Regions from separate parts of the Homo sapiens genome. Here all the other regions are linked to region 4. The links are contacts of gene promoters, found by promoter capture Hi-C in human tissues and cell types (Jung and others, 2019). All regions are on one chromosome and are shown on one strand. Each heading gives the region's core, a stretch centred on a gene start or on the middle of the fragment in contact. The rest is flanking DNA. Distances are from core to core; before and after follow the strand shown. Region 1 overlaps RPS6KA5 (ribosomal protein S6 kinase A5). Region 2 holds the start of RPS6KA5 (ribosomal protein S6 kinase A5). Region 3 overlaps DGLUCY (D-glutamate cyclase). Region 4 holds the start of CALM1 (calmodulin 1).

Region 1 (3,196 bases), core at 544-3,043, 520 kb before region 4:
GGTCTTTCCTACCCCTTCAAGTTACCCAGTGTTTTCTCAATCTTGCCTAATAAAGTCATTCATACTAATGTGTTAGACAGTTCATGTTGCCTTACTAGGACTATTTGCATTCTTCAAAAAAAGGGTTAAATCAGCAACTGAAATATACATGCATGCAAAAAGTGAACAAGAATAAATGAATGGATTCATGGAAAGGATGGATGGATGGATGGATGGATGGATGGATGGATGGATGATGGTACCATTTCATGCATGAGAAGTCTTTCTGATGGGATGGGATGACATATACCCAGGACTCATATTATGTAGACAGTGGTCTGTTCCAGTGAAGAGTGGGTCTGTCAAGTAGATTCTACCACTACTTTGCCACTATAGTGTATCTCAACCACTAACATGTATTACTTTCTTCTTTTGTCACTTGTCATACTAGCTTGAAATCAAATCCCTTTTTTGTTTGTTTGTTCAAGACTGAAAGAGCATATTCCTTTTGTGGAACTATTGAATACATGGCACCAGATATTGTCAGAGGGGGAGATTCAGGACATGACAAGGTATGTTCTATTTTTGATGCTTCTTTATGTATTTCTATAAAATGTACTATAAGAATCCTAGTTAACAACTTAGGTCATCTCTTCAACAGAGCCGTCTTTCTGGTGTTGATTGTCTTACCTTCCTTTTTTTCTCTTTTGCTTTGTATTCCTGAACACATTATGATATCTAGTATTTTGGAGGAAAAAGATAATACAAAGGTTAGGACATTCTAGATTTCCCTTTTTAAAGATTTTATTGGTGAGAATTGTGTTTTATTTTATAGAGTAACACTCTTGTTAAAGTTGAGACCTCCAAACTAGTCAAATAATTTTTATTTTATTTCTGTTGAGAGAGCCTATTTCTTAGAGTACAAACTATGACTCCATTCTTTTAAAAAATTAAGGGCCTGTAATCCCAGCACTTTGGAAGGCCAAGGTGGATGGATCACCTGAGGTCAGGAGTTCGAGACCAACCTGGCCAACATGGCAAAACCTCATCTCTACTAAAAATATAAAAAATTAGCTGGGCGTGGTGGCGAGCGCCTGTAATTTCAGCTACTCGGAAGGCTGAGGAAGGAGAATGTTTGAACCCGGGAGGCAGAGGTTGCAGTGAGCAGAAATTGTGCCATTGCACTCCAGCCTGGGCAGCAAGAGTGAGACAACGACTCAAAAGAAAATTACTTACTTATTTTTGCATGAGACCCTGGCCTTTTAGGATACAAGTGAACCACAATGCAATACAGAAGGGTCACGGCATGTAAAACTGCACATTGTTCCTGTCTGAGTCGTGATGAATGGTTTTGGACAGTATTTATTGGCATTTTTAATTTCTACTAGAAAAACATTCGGAAACATATAGTCATGTGTATCACCTTTAGTTAATAATTGGCTTTTTAAGCTGTCACTAAGAGGTCAATGAAAAGGGAATCACTGATATTTTCTTATTCCCAGTTTCTGCCTTTAACTTTCCAGAGACACTGGAGACTGTTGATTATCTTCCCAACAGAAATAAATATTTTAACAACCCTTGGTGAAAGAAAAAATCCTGAGTTCTAGATAGTTTAAGTTTGTTTTCCTAAGCCCTCTAAAAAGCTCAATTTTTTTGGCCTCCTCTCTTGCCTTTGTATGTGCAAAATGAAGATTCTAGAAGAAACTTTCTAAGTAATTATGTTATAAAATCTAGGTCATGGTTTTTTTTCTGTATTAAAGGGTACAAAATTTGTTCATTTTTTAACACTTCTGTTTTATTAATAGCTTTATCCAAATAAGGTATTCTACTTTTTGTTCCCCATCTTTCCTTCTCCTTCATTCCCTTTCAGAGTCCCACATATGCAGTTCAGATATCTGGCTGTGGAGAATCTTTGGTCTCCTTCCTGACGACTAATCATGTATTTAAAAGCATGTTCTTCAAGTTTGTGTGTTACTGGTTTTGGAACCCAGGGCTAAGAATCTGATTATTGATCTCTGTCAGTTGAATAATGTGGTTTCAAATCCAACAGCAAAACATTCTGAGGGTTCTGACTCAAATGGCAGTCAAACTGCTTGTATTAATGGAAGAGTTTAATTGCTGGCTTAGTTTGCTTCTTGATATTCTTTGAAGCTGTTGGGGAATTTGGTAGGAATTTATACCTGTTAATTTGAAAATTATCTTCAGAGACCTAATGGAACCAATTTTCACATAAGAAAATCTTATATTACTCCTAGAATTTCTACATACCTAAGGTGCAGAATATACCTAGTCAATAAATATTTTTTCCCACACCTGGAACAACCTGACAGTTATTAAATGATATAATGTATGCAAAGTGCTCATCATAGTGCCTGGCATGAGGAAAATATTCAGTAAATACCTTTGCTCTCACGATTTTAGTCTGCCTGATGTGTTTTGTATGTCAGCACTCTGTATTTTCTTAATAGCTCTAGGCTCATAAATTTTGTCACCTCTCTGAAACTTAGGCCCTGGAAATTGGAAGCAAATAGTTTGAAATTTTAACATCTAGTTAATATTTCTCATTGGTGTACACTCATTTATTCAATAGTTATTAAAATTCTGATTTGCCTAATTACAAAAGAAGTAATTTTCAATACATCAAGATTCTTTAGGCCAGGCATGGTGGCTCACGCCTGTAATCCCAGCACTTTGGGAGGCTGAGGTGGGCAGATTGCTTGACCCTAAGAGTTCAAGACCAGCCTGGGCAACATAGTGAGACCCCATCTCAAATAAAATAAAATAAAAGATTCTTTAAATTATATATAATTTTCTATGTTCTCAGTTCAGGTAACTGCATGTATAAATTGGTTTCCAAATTAGAACACATTTTATTTTATATTATTTTAGATCTTCCCATCAGTGAAGACTCTGAGGTTTATGTGTGATAGGTTCTATAAGAAAAATTGATTTAGGCAGTTAGGAAAAAATAACATACCCTTGGATGTGGTTTTTTTTTTCATTTATTGTTCTTTGAATTTTAGACATTTCATAAGGCTCACTGGAGCTGAATACTTTAGTTCCCTATCATAAGCCCAAAGAAATATCACCTACTTAAAATTTTAAAAATTTATATAAAGTTTAAATTTTTTAAATTATCAAGGTAAACGGTTACTAGTTTAAGAAATAACATGCTTTCTGTGCTGAGGATACTTGGATATTTGTTCTCTAAATGTCT
Region 2 (3,261 bases), core at 166-2,665, 660 kb before region 4:
AAATATTTACTATCTGGCCCTTAATAGAAAAAAGTGTGCTGACTCCTGATCCAATCCATGCTTAGTTTAAAAGATCACATCTATCTGAATTACGTCCAACTGTACATCTTTAAGTTTCTGCTTTTTCCCATTCTCGTGTCTGCTACTAGAAATCAGGTTCCCTTTAGTTCTATCCTTGCAGCAGGATTCCTGCCCTGCTATCTCTCTCCTCTTTTCAGTTCATCACTGTGTACTAAAAAAAATCTGCACTCTTCAGCACAGCATCCCTAGTTCCCCATTATCTTACCACACCTCACCTTGTCAGCTGTATCTCTTACATCATACTTTCATCTAACCTTATCAATCACTTAACCCACCCTTGCCTTCTCTGCTGTAGGCCAATGCTCACAGTTACTCTCTCTGTGTGGAATGTCTATTGCTGGTATTTCTCTCTTATCCATCCTTTACGTTGGTTATCTCAAATGCCTCCTTGCCCTAAAAGCTTTCCCCAGTTCCTCGTCTGGGAATAATTATTGCCATCCGTGCGAGATTCTCTAACGCTTTGTACGACTGCTTTATTTCAAATTCTGCTTTATAGTTCTTTTGTGTACACACACAGATTGTTTCTCACGTTCTATTGAAAGCTGCTTAGGGGAGGAATTGTATTCTATTTTGTTAATCTCTGCATCCTTTCGGCGCCTAGTAAGAGTCTTGTACGAAACAGAAATGTCTCTCCTTCGTAAAATTCCTCATCGGGAGCTGGGACTGTGAATTTTTGTAACGTTTAAGAACTATCTGTTATTTAAGAACAAACACTCTGCTTAACTTGTTTAGGGTTCACTAGAGCGAGTAAGACCTTTTTAGGGCACGCCGTCTCGCTGGTTGTCACACACGCATGGATCGCTGCCGGGACCCTTAGGTTTGTCTGCAAACACGTGGGTGATAAGCGCTACCCTCCAGGCCCCTCCTCTGTCCACGGTGATTGGCGGACCAAACGTTCCAATCATCCCTCCCCGCCTCTTTCGGCAGTAGCCAATCAGAGACCCCGAGCGCCTCCTGACTACTAGACACTGTTTACTAACAGATCGAAGCTGGGGAATAAGGGGTGTGACCGTTCTGGGGAGGTCAGGGAAGGGAAGGTCTTGACTGCGAGTGCGCACCAGAGGAAATGGGCGGGGCAGAGCTTTGGGTCTCACCAATCGGAGTGGCGGCGCTCCTCCCTCTCCTGCCTCCCCGCCAAGCAACAACAATTCGAGGAGCGAGGCGGGGAGGCTCGTGAAACGTCACAGCGTACTGCCCAATGGGAACCGGCGTTGGCAGACGCGCGCGCCCTGTGTCCAATCAGCGAAGGCGGCTCGAATGGCTCCCTTACCTTGCTGGCTGTGGGCGGAGCGGCCTGAGGAGGCGGCGGTGGAGCAGGGGGCGGTTTGGTTGCGCGGTACTAGCGGTGCCCGCCGAAGGGGGAGGAGGCGAGGAGCGAGCCGTGCGGCCAGAGCGGGAAAGAGACTCGTCTTTGCGTCCGAGTTCTGGAGCCGCCGCACCCCGACTCCTGGGGCCGCGGCAGCGGCTGCGAGGGGACGGGCGTCCGCTGTCTCCTGGGTTCCCCTCGTAGCGACCCGCGGGATCGGAAAAAAAGGAGAAGATGGAGGAGGAGGGTGGCAGCAGCGGCGGCGCCGCGGGGACCAGCGCGGACGGCGGCGACGGAGGAGAGCAGCTCCTCACTGTCAAGCACGAGCTGCGGACTGGTGAGCGACCCCGCCCTCTGCCGGCCGGGCCCGGCGCGGGGGCGCGCCTGAGGGCACGCGGGTGCCCGCGCGGGGCTGGGGGCGCGGGGCCGCAGCCGTGGGCGCGGAGGGGCGGGCCTGGGGCGGGGCGTCGCGGTCGGGGCGCGTGCCCCGGGGGTCCCGGGAGGTGGGGGCGCGCCTTGGGGGAGGCGGCCGAAAGTTTTCCCCAGCCCGGGAATGAGCGGCGGGCACCAGGCATCGGGGCCAGCGCAGCCGCCGACCGCTGCCCGTGGCACGCACCTCCGAGGATGTCGCTGCTCCCCCTTCCCGCACAGGTGACACACGTGTGTCTGCGTCCTGTCAGGGCGAAAGGTGCGCCTGCCTCCGCGTGGGGCGAGCGGCGCTTTGTTTTGGAGAGTGTCTCCCTCCTCCGCCCCTCTGGTCCCCGCGATGGGGGGTCCCGGTGGGGCTCTGTGGAGCCATCCCCTAAGGTGCTGGGGTCCTGTAGGAGATAAACGGGAGGTTTCGCCTCGGGCTTTTACCGAGTCCAGTCTAGAGACAGGAACAGGAATCGCCGGCTCCAGGGATTGAGTGCCTTTATTCTCACTTATCATGAAATACTATACTTGGCCTTGAATTTCCTTCAGAGGTCCCTGGAGATGATGGCTTTAGAAATTTAAAGCTCCAGGTAAAAGGAACTAACGAGCAGGCTTCAGCGCTTACGTTCTAATGTTTGAGATCACTAGCGTTGTCCTAAGCTTTATAACTAATTAAATGTATTCGTGGTGTAGGTTCAGGTTGTTCATTTTGGAAAATGCTTATTCAGACCAATCAGTACAATTTGGATTTATATTCTTGGAGCCCAGTCTCGTATTGTAGATATATTAATACTTTTTTCTCTGAACAGATAGTACATTTTAATGAGTCGTTCGTTATTACTAGATATGTTTGTGAGCGTTGAAGGTTTTTGACAGAGCTGCTTTGGCATATTGGGATTTTTTTTTTTTTTTTTCAGACAGAGTTTCGCTCTTGTTGCTCAGGCTGGAGTGCAGTGGCATGATCTCGGCTCACCGCAGCCTCCGCCTCCCGGGTTCAAGCGATTCTCCTGCCTCAGCCTCCGGAGTAGCTAGGATTACAGGCATGCGCCACCATGCCCGGCTAATTTTGTATTTTTTGTGGGGGCGGGGTGGGGGGGGCGGTCCTCTCCACGTTGGTCAGGCTGGTCGCGAACTCCCGACCTCAAGTGATCCGCCCGCCTCGGCCTCCCAAAGTGCTGGGATTACAGGCGTGAGCCACCGTGCCCGGCCGGGTTATTATTTAATTGTGAAGGCACAAAAGCTTAAACGGCAGGATTCAGGTGTCCACTAGTACATCTTGTTTCTGTTTTGAACAGATTGGAAAGTTAGCTCTGTCCGTCAGTTCTTTCAGTTTTTGTTATTTCTACTGAGATTGCCTATAAGCATTCCATTGGGTGCCAGTGTGGTGACTTAATTCAAGAGAGATGTCAAATTCATGCTTCTTAATTCAACATTTGTAAACATTGTTTTTTTGGTCATTG
Region 3 (3,097 bases), core at 354-2,853, 720 kb before region 4:
TTGTGTGTTCGTTACTTGACATTTTTGGAAACACCCAAGTTAGACCTATAAAAATGGATTGACTCCTCTGTGATGATCCAGGTACTCATGATACTTCAAGTCTGGTGGCCGTCACTAGTAACTAAGGTGGTGTGGGCCGAACAGAGTTCTCCCTGAGCACAGCGAGCAACTCTTGATTGTCTCTGTGGCTCAGGTGCCTGTCTCCTGCTAAGCCTAAGTCCTCGAAAGACAGGGACTGTGTCTTATCTGTCTTTATGGCCCACAAACCCAGAGTAGTGCCGGCTACATAGTGAGTGCCTCTTTGCTGAATGAAATGCAGCCTTAAGAAAAGAAAGAACTAGCCAAGCACCGTGGCTCACGCCTGTAATCCCAGCACTTTGGGAGGCTGAGGCAGGTGGATCACAAGGTCAGGAGTTTGAGACCAGCCTGGCCAATATAGTGAAACTTTGTCTCTACTAAAAATACAAAAATTAGCCAGACATGGTGGCAGGCGCCTACAGTCCCAGCTACTCCTACTCAGGAGGCTGAGGCAGGAGAATCACTTGAACCCGGGAGGTGGAGGTTGCAGTAAGCCGAGATCGAGCCACTTCACTCCAGTCTGGGCGACAGAGTGAGACTCTATCTCAAAAAAAAAAAAAAAAAACTTTTTTCTTTTATTATAGTTAAAATACACATAACATTGACCATCTTAATCATTTTAAAGTGTACAATTCAGTAACATTAAATACACTCACAGTGATATGCAATGTCATAATTTTTAATTTAAAATAAAAAAAATCTTTCTTTTTTTCTTTTAAAGGTACAATGGCTCACGCCTGTAATCCTAACACTTTGGGAGGCCAAGGCGGGAGGATTGACTGAGCCCAGAAGTTTGAGACCAGCCTGTGCAACACAGTGGAACCCCATCTCTACAAAAAATAAAAAATTAGCTGGGCAGGGTGGCACGTACCTGTGTTCCCAGCTACTCAGGAGACTGAGGTGGGAGCCCGGGAGGTCAAGGCTGAAGTGAGCTGTGGTTGTTGAACCACTGCACTCCAGCCTGGGGAACAGGGTGGGACCCTGTCTCAAAAAAAAAAATAAAAAAATAAAAAGCTCCTTAATAAAATTACTCTAAATAGGTTAACAGTTTTTTCTAAGAGAAAAAAAAAAGATATCATACAGAGCCTGATTTCAAGGCAATCTAGACAACAAGGTGTGAATACTGTTCTCCACTAAATACAACTGCTATCACTTCTTAGCTCTTCTGTGATCATCTCCCAGTGCTCAAAACGTATTCATCAAGCAAATGTGTTGAGCACTCTGTTAGATGATGGGAATAAACAGATGAGCAGACATGGCCAGTGCCTGTGAGGTGCTTAAAGACCAGAGAAGAGACAGATGCTTACTTCTAATTCCCCATGCTATACTGTGAACCTCTTAAGGGTAGGGGTTTTTGTCATTTTTTTCCCCCTGCTCTATCCCCAGTATACTGAACAGTGCCTGGCACACTATAGGCATTTTAAAAATACTTGATGATAGATAAATAATGAAAATCTGGCTGGGGAAGTAGGAGAAGCCTTCACTGAAGACATTAGTTGAGTTTGTTCTTGAAATTATTATTATTATTATTATTATTATTATTATTATTATTATTATTTTTGAGATGGAGTCTCACTCTGTCACCCAGGCTGGAGTGCAGTGGCGCGATCGCCACCACATCTGGCTAATTTTTGTATTTTTAGTAGAGATAGGGTTTCACCATGTTGGCCAGGCTGGTCTCGAACTCCTGATTTCAGGTGATCCACCCACCTCGGCCTCCCAACGTGCTGAGATTACAGGCGTGAGCCACTGCGCCCAGCCAAAAATATTATTTCTTGAAGAAAGAGTTACAGACATCCCCACAGGAGAGGAGGGTCTTCTCAGAAGCTTAGGTACAGAGCAGGTAGCATGATTGGAGGTGGAGTAGGACATGGAAAGAGCCATACAGTTCACTCTTTTGCCATTTACAGAGCACTTTCTGTGTGTCGGGAAATGTGCTTAAGCACTGGAGCTGCTAATGAGGAAGAGGCAAGGAAAACTGTGTTGACAGTGTCAGGCAGGTATGGCCTGGGAGACATTGCATGAGCTTTGACAGACAGCTGGAAATCAGCACTAGGAGAAAGGCTGAAGAAGTCTCTGTAGGTGACAGTGTGAGTGGTTGGCACACCTGGGGTAAAGAGGGAGAGGGGCTGGGAAGATAGACAAAGAGATGCTTGGGAGGGAGCATGTGCATAACCTGAAGGAGTATGAGCTTCATCTAAGAGCCCCAGGAGCACTAAGGGTAGGAGGATCCCCTGAACAGGCAGCACTTGGTGGAGGATGAATGTGAAGAAGAACATCCCTCAGAGACCCTCTGTCGTAAGTATTTGAGAAGCAATCCAGGCTTTCCCCAAAGTGAGAGAATGAGAGGAAGGGCTGATTTGAGGAACTGGAAGAGGTAGACTTGCCAGAACCTGATACCTGATTGAATGTATGCAAAAGGTGCAACGAAAGAAAGGAATCACAAATAATTATCAGGGCCAGGTGGGGTGGCTCATGCCTGTAATCCCAGCACTTTGGGAGGCTGAGGCAGGTGGCTCACCTGAGGACAGAGTTCAAGACCAGCCTGGCCAACATGGTGAAATGCTGTCTCTACTAAAAATACAAAAATTAGCCAGGCGCGGTGGTGGGTGCCTGTAATCCCTGCTACTCAGGAGGCTGAGGCAGGAGAATGGCTTGGACCCAGGAGGTAGAGGCTGCAGGTTGCAGTGAGCTGAGATAGCGTGATTGCACTGCAGCCTGGGTGACAAGAGTGAAACTCCATCTCAAAAAACAATAATAATAATAATTATCAGATTTCTTTTTCCTGGGATGGGCAACTAGCTAACTGTGCCATTCATGAAAATAAATACAAGAAGAGACTGATGAGGAATTTGGTTTTAGAATGCTAAGTAGGAGGAGCCTGTGAGACAGCCCCAGGCAGAGGTCCATGACAGGGTGGACATTCAGCACCAGAAGTCAGGAAGGACACCTGCCCGGAGGAGGGAGAGCTGCGAGTCATCAGCTTTTGCGTGGCTGAGGACACTAAGTGTATTAGTCA
Region 4 (3,244 bases), core at 695-3,194:
AATAAGTCCTAATAGAAAGCTGATGAAGTTTATACTCTTAAGTGAAAACTTTAACAGTAGGAATGGTGTTCCAATATATTGATTCTGGGTGAAAATTTGTTTTTACAAATTATAAACGGATCTTTCTTTCTACCTCAATCACTAAAAATTGGCTTTCTTTAAATGACGGAGACACGATGATTTACGTAACGCCAAGGCAACATCTGTCTTGTACAACAGGAAGCGCTGCCACACCTCGCAAGAGAAACTGTCACCTTATGGGGAGAACAGTCCCACCTCGCTACAGAACTCTCTTGTTAGAGGGGTTACCAGGAGCATCCAACTTTCTCGACAACGAAAACCTCCTCCCCCAAATGGCGCTAGCCCTGGGGGCAAAGGTGTACCAGAACCCTGCGGGGAACCATCTCCCCACCCGCCAAACCAGAAACGCAGTCGGTGATGTCAGCCCTGCACGCCGAGGAGGAAGGGGCTGTGGAAAACACACCCAGCGAGGCGCACAGTCGCATCTGGCAATCTAGAGGCTGCAGAGAAAGCAGAAACGTGGAGGGCATCTCTCTGCGGACTGGAAGTGGCGCGGGGCGAGGGACCGGGCAGGGCGCGTGCCCGGGGGCAGGCGTGGGGGGGAAGGCGGCCCCCGAGCGGGCGTCTGGACGCCGCCCCTCCTCGGCCAGGAGGGTCACCACCCCCGGCCCCCGCGCACCAGGGCTGAGGCCAAGGCCACCCGCACCTCCCACCCGCTTCTGCTCCCCCAGGCGACGAGCCCGCGGCGCCGCCGCCTCCTCCCGGAGCAGAAACTTTGCGTCTCTAATGGAAACCAAGCCGCGCGCCAGTTCCCTCCTCCCCCGCCGCCCCCCCCCCCCGCCCCAATTAGCGCGAGCCCAGCGCCTCCCGCGGGAAGTGCCTCCTGGTGCACCGAGGCTCACGCCCGCCCGCACTGCTGCACTGGGTGGGGGGCCGCAGGGTGCGAAAGCGGCAGGAACAAGCCACGGCCACACCGCAGGGCCCCGCCCGGGCGCAGGGCGGCCCGGCCGCCGCTTCCGCCCTCTCCGCCCCCAACCCCTCGCCTTCCTGCCCCCAACCCCACCCTTCCCCGGCTCCTTCCTTCCCAGCCCACGCCCGCGCCGCGCCCCCCGGGAAGAAGGAGGGGAGAGCGACCGAGGGAGGGCGCCCAGCAGGGCCGGCCAAAGTGGGGAGGTGGCGGGCGCTGACTGCGCCCCTCAACACCCGGCCGGAACAATGTGCGCCACCGGCCAGCTCCAGCCCATTCATTCTCCACTGCCCGCCCGACCTGCCACCTTCGCGCCGGCGGAGAAGCGGGGTGGGGAGGGGCGGGCCGGGGGGGGGGGTCTAGTGCCCGGCCCCGCCCGGCTCCCAGGCCGAAACGCTGCGCTGCAGGCAGCCCGGGTGCGGCGCTAGTGGATGCAGTGGGTGCGGGGCTGGGCGGGGGGCAGGGGGATTGGATGCAGAAACCCCCGCTGCAGTTGCGGCCGGAGCCCCTGCCCGTGGACGGCCTACGACCAAGTCCAGCTCCAAGGGGAACCAATAAATGAAGCTCCCTGGCAGAGGTCGCCGAGATGCAAATCCAAAATGCAACCTCCTTTAAGCGCAGCTGCTGCGTAACACTCAGAAAAGAAAAACCTCCAAGAACCAAAAACAAACAAAAAACAAACAAAACAACTAGAAATCTGGGAAGAAATCTCGGGCAGCTGCTACGCCGGCATTTGCCACTCCCGACCTACCATGGTGCGAGCGAAGGGAGGAAGAGCAGAGGGAGCGAGGGTGGCTGCACCAGCGCGGGGGCTGCGACGGCGGGGGTACCTCCGATGCCGCTGCTGCTGCTGCTGCTGCTAAGGCGCGCTGTGCGCTATGCCGCCGCCGCCGCCTGCGCCGCCGCCTGACTACGAGTAACGGCACGGCGTCCACGACACTCCCAGCACCACTGCCGGAGCGCGAGTCTGCGCCCCGCGATATATATATGGTGCGCCGTATCCCTCCGCCGCGGCGGAGCCGCCTCGCGCAGAGCGGCGCTGCGGCAGCCGGGCCTTGCCCGCCTGGTCCCGCCCCCGGGTTCGCCAGGCCTCCCGCCGCCCCCTGCGCGCCAGTCGCGGCGGCCCTACGCTGGGTCGGGGAAGCGTTCTAGGCTGGGCGCGCGGTCTCGGGTCAGGTGTGGCGGGGAGTCCTCAGGAGACGCCCACCCTGGGCGGGGGCGAAGACAGAGCGCCTGCTTAGTCCAACCTGGGGGCGGCCCAGAGCTTCGGAAGCCGTTCACTCCGCTACCTACCCCAGCCTCACCCCACCTGGGTGACCCTCCCACCTCAACATCTCCAACCGCTCCACTAGGGCTGCCGGCTCCCGCGTGCCCCTCGTCCTTGGGTCTGCAGCGGCCACTTCCAGTTTGGGGTGCTGCAGGAGGTCCTGAGAGTAGGGGGTCCGCGGGGAGGTGGAGGCAGATTGGCCACACTCCTTCAGCTGCCGAGGAGAGGGGTCTGCAGAGGACGAGGTAGTTGTCCTCCTGGAAGAAATTGGTCCTCTTCGGATTTTGGAGCAGTATCCGAGTCAAATTATTTATGCTCAGTTGCTAAATCTGTGTCATGCTGCGATGTTTAATCAGTCTTTAATGTTTTTACGTTTCCACTGAATATTTTTTAGGATGCCTGAATATTTCTCCCCTACTATTTTGTTCTTTTTCCTGGCGCCCGTCTTACTAAAATTAGTGTACCTGTGCAGCTTCTACAGACCTTAAACCCAGGCTTTAAATTTTTCGTAATTTTCCTGATCCTGAGAAGGGTCAGAGTCTTTATTCATAAATCCATAGAAACAAGGGAAAAAATAGATGCTTCAAATCCTCTGCATTACAAGTGGAACACACAGCCAATTGCCTCTCTTATGGAGCTAGATTGTATTTTAAACTACAGTTTTGATTATATTCCTTTTAAAAGACTATTTAAATCTTTAAATATACTAGTGTTTTCCATTTTTTATTATATTCCTTTTAAAATAATATTTAAATCTTTAAGTTTACTAGTGTTTTCCATTTTTCTGTAAAGTAGAGAAAGAACAATTTCAGCCAGTAATGTGAACCCCAGGACTTGTAAAAATCTAGACAAAATGCTGCAGTTTCTTTTCTTGCCAAGGCAGAACACAGAATTTGATCTTCTGTTTTACAGGGCCCGGGCAACAGTTGGAGGTTATCATTTGCTTACTGTTTCACAGAATATGGCAAAGTGTGTGATTAACATGCTGT

The links. The method cuts DNA at HindIII sites, captures the fragments that hold promoters and counts their contacts. A contact is called where the count stands out against the background at its distance.
Region 1: a contact is called between a fragment that was not itself captured here and the fragment with the promoter of CALM1 in region 4, in 1 of the 25 tissues and cell types used here (spleen).
Region 2: a contact is called between the fragment with the promoter of RPS6KA5 here and the fragment with the promoter of CALM1 in region 4, in 1 of the 25 tissues and cell types used here (dorsolateral prefrontal cortex).
Region 3: a fragment that was not itself captured here is called in contact with the fragment with the promoter of CALM1 in region 4 in 1 of the 25 tissues and cell types used here (dorsolateral prefrontal cortex).

Annotation. Positions count from the first base shown.
Region 1 is chr14:90,920,468-90,923,663 of GRCh38, reverse strand. It overlaps RPS6KA5 (ribosomal protein S6 kinase A5), which reads left to right. Exons shown (of 17, transcript NM_004755.4): 6 at 468-551. Among named protein-coding and RNA genes, the nearest start is that of LINC02321, 94 kb to the right of the region's middle. The HindIII fragment of the contact is 8,054 bases long and covers 1-3,196 here.
Region 2 is chr14:91,058,795-91,062,055 of GRCh38, reverse strand. RPS6KA5 (ribosomal protein S6 kinase A5) reads left to right here and starts at 1,415. Exons shown (of 17, transcript NM_004755.4): 1 at 1,415-1,724. The coding sequence starts at 1,622. It also overlaps a transcript of DGLUCY not described here. RefSeq lists silencers at 913-1,042, 1,263-1,322, 1,693-1,822, 1,893-1,962 and an enhancer at 1,105-1,685. The HindIII fragment of the contact is 3,623 bases long and covers 1-2,751 here.
Region 3 is chr14:91,120,149-91,123,245 of GRCh38, reverse strand. The region is part of intron 1 of DGLUCY (D-glutamate cyclase); the gene reads right to left. Among named protein-coding and RNA genes, the nearest start is that of SNORA11B, 4.7 kb to the left of the region's middle. RefSeq lists an enhancer at 2,702-3,097. The HindIII fragment of the contact is 7,327 bases long and covers 1-3,097 here.
Region 4 is chr14:90,395,729-90,398,972 of GRCh38, reverse strand. It overlaps CALM1 (calmodulin 1), which reads right to left and starts at 1,944. Exons shown (of 6, transcript NM_006888.6): 1 at 1,740-1,944. The coding sequence starts at 1,742. RefSeq lists enhancers at 213-512, 1,683-1,732, 1,854-2,148 and silencers at 573-642, 683-752, 833-1,382, 1,393-1,552, 1,833-2,252. The HindIII fragment of the contact is 12,028 bases long and covers 1-3,244 here.